2 separate regions of the Homo sapiens genome follow, and region 1 is linked to region 2. Evidence: promoter capture Hi-C in 16 types of primary human blood cells and fetal thymus (Javierre and others, 2016). All regions are on one chromosome and are shown on one strand. The core of a region is centred on a gene start or on the middle of the fragment in contact, and the rest is flanking DNA. Distances in the headings are between cores, read along the strand shown.

Region 1 (2,700 bases), core at 160-2,659, 9.2 Mb after region 2:
CCAAGCTTGTCGATGATACTAAGACTTCCCATTTTTTATTCATCTCAAAGATCAGCTTTGGCTTTTAACCTTCATTACTAAAACCCCCACATAACTGGGAAAGCCAATGATTTTCTTACTTCTTAAGGTGCTTAAGTTTTCTGCTGCAAGATACATCTGCCAAAACAAACTCTTCTTCACTCTTTTCTCTCTTAGCCACTATGATCTTTACTCCTAGTTCTTCTCCCACCTCTTTTCCTAGTCTCTTCTAGTGTTTTCTTCTTTTTCTCCACCTACCCTAAAATGTCAAAAGTACTCCAAGATTCCAGTCTTATCACTGTATATTCTGTACTGTATTAACCGCCTCTTGACTGGCTCCCCTGACTTCAGTTTTTCTCTTTAATACCTACTTTATCCTGATATCAGAACAACCTTCCTAAAACATCTACCCTGTTGTACCACCTCTGGCTTAAAAACCTCTGTGCCCCACTCCCCCGACCTTCTCCAAACACTGCTCCCCCAGCCCAAATTTGGTTACAGGATAAGGTATACTTTTCTCAACAAGTCATCAAAGAAAGTTTGTAACCTGGCTCCAGGCTTCATTTTCAGTTTCATTACCAACCATTTCCTTCAACTGATCACATGCTCCTGTTCTATAAGAGTATTCATTCTTTTCAGAACAAGCTGTGTGTTTTTATGGCCCTGTCTGTTCCTTCTGTTAACTGTCGTTCCCTTTCTCGTTTATAGGATAAATTCTTACCCATTCTTCAAAGCCCAGTTTATCAGTTAACATTTCTCACCTCTCCTTGAATTTACTAATTTTTTAATCATGCTTCCACAATATTCTGCATACACATTTATAATGGCATTATGACTATATCCTATTGGTATTTTTAGAGTCTACTTTCCATAATAGAAATGAGAGATTTTCTAAAGCAGATTTGGTACTTAATTTATTTTTATGTCTCCTGTGGGTAATACAGTGCCTGGCAGACAGAAGACAAAGGATATGCATTTCTGGAATAAATAATTAAGCTCAACCCTACTTAAAGTTATTTTCTTTTCTGTTTTTTTTTTTTTTTTTTTTTTTTTTTTGAGACAGAGTCTCGCTCTATTGCCTAGGCTGGAGTGCAATGGTGTGATCGGCTCACTGCAACTTCCGCCTCCCAGGTTCAAACAATTCGCCTGCCTCAGCCTCCCGAGTAGCTAGGATTACAGGCGCCTGCCAGCATGGCCAGCTAATTTTTGAATTTTTAGTAGAGACGGGGTTTCATCATGCTGGCCAGGCTGGTCTTGACCTCCTGACCTCAGGTGATCCGCCCACCTCGGCCTCCCAAAGTGCTGGGATTACAGGTGTGAGCCACCGCACCTGGCCAAAGGTATTTTCATATAGATATATACACATACTATTGTTTATCTGCTAACTGGCATTTACAAAATATTACCTGCTCAAAATCTCCCATAGTAGTGTATTTGGTAAACAATCTTCTAATACGTATATGTGCTAAATAAATTTCCATCAAGTAGCAGTAGCTATGAAGTATAAGATTCTACACACCAAAATGCTGGATCTATCTATCTATCTATCTATCTATCTATCTACCTACCTACCTACCGATTGATCGATCGACCGACCTACCTACCACTATTTAGTTGATACAAATATCCAACATAAAGATGGTGCCTTAAAATGCCAATAAAATAAACTTTATTGTGCTGACAAAACAAGATAATTTATACCATTAGGCAATCATTCACATGTGATAAAACATTTTTATAGTTGCTTCATCTAAATCTATAAGATTCAACCTAAATAAAATTCCATTTAAGGAAATGATCATCATCTTACTCCAACTGATGCAAATATCTGAGTTTTTGTACTAACTATCTGACACACTGATTTACTGAAAGAGACAATAATATGCCTTACCTGAACAAGAGAAAAAATCCATAAATTTCGAAGATCATGCCTATCAAAGGCCAACCAATAAGGACTACAAATACACCACCCAGAAAAAAACCTGTAGCTTTCATTTTATGTTTTTGGAAGAAGAATCTGAATGTTCTTTCTAAACCAATTACAAAAGCCAAGCCGGCTACAAATAAAACCTAAAAGAGAAAGAAAATACAACACGGAAAAGGTAATTAAACACAATGCATAAATTTTAAACGTAAAGTCAAAGCTAAATATAAAAAAAGAAGCACATTTGTTTGGCTTTTAATGTGGGCAACTGGCCAGACAGAACTGTAATGTACAACCAAGCAGCAGAACCAAGGAGTGGGTTATGCATTTTAAAGTTGTAGCTTTGTTCCACTTGTCTCATTCCTCTTCTATCTTGATTAAATGGAGAAAAAGAGAAACAAAGAAAGATTAGACGTTACCAAGGGGCATCTGTGTCTGCAGTAGTTTTCCTAGTTTTAGCTGGATGAGGAAGGCTTAGTCAAGCAGATGAGTTGGCAAGGCATAAAGAGGAAAGCTGCCCATAAATATGTCACCCAAGGGTATTCCTCTTGGTTCTGAAATATTCATCATAGGCTACAGGAGTTTCTATGGATGGGAGAAATATTGACATGGCTAAGTTGATAGCAGAAGAAACAACGTGAAGCCAAGAAGATTCTAGTTTTATAAATTCTAGAATATCTGGTGGCAGCAGAAATAAAAATACAACCATGTGTTTTCAAATATTTTGAATGTATTCTGTGGACAAGAAATGGTGATGG
Region 2 (2,793 bases), core at 79-2,578:
TTCTTCAGTGCCCCGCTGCTCAGACCTCTAGAGAAGCATACAGACCGGCAGGCTGTGGGGCTCCGACCCCTTGACAGAGTCTGGGGGTGAATGTTTACAGCTCCTGAAGCCCCAGTGGGTGTGTGTTACAGGATGCTCTTTCAGTTTGCCTTTAGGGGGCTTGTGTTAACCAGCTCAATTAGACCCTCTACCTTGTCGCACAGACAGCGAGCTTTCTGTATCCTGGGTTCTTGCCTTGGTGTACCAGAAGAATTGGATCACACGTGGGCTTGGAGAATGAGTGCAAAGTTTTATTGAGTGGAAGTAGCCCTCAGCAGATGAGGGACCCAGAAGGGAAATGGTTTTCCTCTGGAGTTAGGCCGCTTGGCGGCCCGGGCTCTTTTCCGACTGCCCAGGCCAACCTCCGCATCGTTCTGCCCGTGAATGGCCTGCGGATGTGCCAGCGAGCTCCTCTTCTTCCACCCTTATGCTCCTCTGGACGTCTGGCTGCCTGTGTACCTGCCTGCTAGGGTCTGGGGTTTTCATAGGCACAGTATGGGGGAGTGGCAGGCCAGGGTGGTCTTGGGAAATGCAACATTTGGGCTGGAAGGCAGGAGTGTCAGTCCTCACCTAGGTCGGTGGGCGTGGAGCCCTAGCAAGGGACCACACACTCCTCTACCCAGCACTTCACTTCGCCCATCCCTATCATTTAAAGGGACCACGCTCTTCCCTTCCCAGCACTCCCCTATCATTTCTACACTGTAAATTTTTTTTGTTTATATTTGTCTCATCTATCAGGTTGTGAATTCCTTCACATTAACTTGCATGGAATTCATCTTGTTATAATGTGGTACCTAAAAATCCTAGTACTCTGGTTCAAAAATATATGTTTAACAAATGTTCAGTGAAAGCGAATGAATGAATGAACGATGACTCCCACACACGGAGGAACCCTGTCCTCCTGTAAGGTACATGATTTGAAGGTCCCAACAAGTCTATCTTGGAACAGGCCCAGTTGCGATGCCCATACAGTTCTCGGACTAACAAAAAGTGTCACACCATCCAGATATGCTTAATTTGGAAGCAGCTGTAAGCAGACTCCCGGCCAGCTCAAGTTTCCTCACCTGGGAAGAGGCGGGAGGCTGTTTACCGTACGGAAGCATAGCGGCCGCCTGCCTGAGTTCGGGAGCGCGGGTTCCTTTCCGGGAAAGAAGCCTAGGCCGTTTTCCGTACAGCAGCATGGCGGCCGCCGACGGGAGGCGGTCATAGCATCACGCCCGGGGGAAGAGGCCGCCGTAAAGGAAGCTCTGCTTCCTCTTCTTCCTTCTCCCGCCTCCCACCGGCTGTCGTAAAACGGTGAATGGAGAGCGAGTTGTGGGGGGGAAAAAGGGAGGACAGGGGGCGCGGAGTCAGAGTGGCGCAGCAAGTGGCCGCAGGTGGCGACGGTGGCGGGGGGTGGGGTGTGAGGTAATCCAGGGGTCGCGGAAGAGGAGGCTGAGAGGGTCAAAAGAAAACTAAAGCTGCAGTCCGGCCTACTGTTCCGGGGGCCGCGGAGCCCCCACCCGGGGAGATGGACCTCAACCGGATCATCCAGGCGCTGAAGGGCACCATCGACCCGAAGTTGCGGATTGCAGCCGAGAACGAGCTCAACCAGGTGAGGAGAGGGTCTTCGGCGACCCTCTTCCGCCGAAGGGGCGCCCCTGCCGGCTGGCCGGGCTCCCTCTCCCCGGCGCCCCTCGTCCTCACCCCCACCGGGCTGGGGCTGACGCCTCACGGCTGGTCCCGCTCTCCGACCCCGCTGCCCCCCGGTCCAGTGGAGCAGGGCTCCCAGGATCTTTGCCGAACAGCTCGCGCACCTGTTGGCCACCTTTGCACCTTTTCGTGTCGTCTCCCTTCTCCAGGGCAGTTTGTTCTGCCTACTTGGTCCGCAAGAAGCAGTTTTTGCAACCTGTGCTAGTGTTTTCAGGGTGTGATTTATTTTCCTTAAGTGCGCGGACTTGGGGAGCAGGTGGGAATTTTACTTACAGTTCAAATCTGAGTTCAGCTTTTTTCCAAACCCAGCCCTTTTTAGGTGTTGCTGTGGAGCACGCTGCCCACCGCCTCCTCCTGTCGGGTTGGCAGGACTGTTTTGACACCGATTGGCCGAGTTTTGCGGAGCGCTGGGCAGTGCTGTTGGGAGAGTGCTCTGGGAAGAATAGGCAGTTTTCATGGTGATACTGCTTTATCTAAGACACATCAAAGTAAGATGTGTTGGAGAAATTTCTTATGAATGCTAAAATGTGTAAGACTTCTTTCTTTTCTCCGTCTCCTGTTCTTCCTAATTAGCCTTGACGTCTTTCCAGCGTTACCCCCACACTTCAAAATTTTAATGATCCCAAACTCCAGCTTATTTCTTCTTCCCTACCGGTACTTAAGAATCACAGACCTCTTACTAAAAAGTAGGGATTAAGAGCTACCACTGGGATGGAGCAACAGCTGTTTTAGGTTGTGATGACTTGTAAAATGTAAATATTCCAAAATCAGCTGTTCTCAAAGCGTTGCCCAGGACCTGGAGCTTCAGCATCACCTGAGAACTTACAAATTATGCAAATTACGGGGCTTCAGTCCAGACTTAACGAATCAGAAACTGTGGGGGTGGGACCAGTTGTATTTTAACTAGCTCCCCCAGGTGATTCTGTGCCTCCCGAAGTGTGACTGAAGTGTGACTGTCCTAAGTAAATGTTTCTGTTGGAATTGACTTTAAAAAGCTGCGTGTTGGGAATCTTTGAAAGGGATTATTTTAATAGGAAACCTAGGTGGAGTTTGGAGTAGGTA

What was found. Contacts are between HindIII fragments. The CHiCAGO score rates a contact against its expected background, and 5 or more counts as called.
Region 1: a fragment that was not itself captured here is called in contact with the fragment with the promoter of IPO8 in region 2 in 1 of 17 cell types (total B cells); the score reaches 6.5 in total B cells.

Annotation. Positions count from the first base shown.
Region 1 is chr12:21,507,771-21,510,470 of GRCh38, reverse strand. It overlaps GOLT1B (golgi transport 1B), which reads right to left. Exons shown (of 5, transcript NM_016072.5): 3 at 1,910-2,088. Among named protein-coding and RNA genes, the nearest start is that of GOLT1B, 7.3 kb to the right of the region's middle. The HindIII fragment of the contact is 2,804 bases long and covers 8-2,700 here.
Region 2 is chr12:30,694,404-30,697,196 of GRCh38, reverse strand. IPO8 (importin 8) reads left to right here and starts at 1,328. Exons shown (of 25, transcript NM_006390.4): 1 at 1,328-1,633. The coding sequence starts at 1,550. RefSeq lists an enhancer at 939-1,438 and a silencer at 1,529-1,578. The HindIII fragment of the contact is 4,530 bases long and covers 1-2,793 here.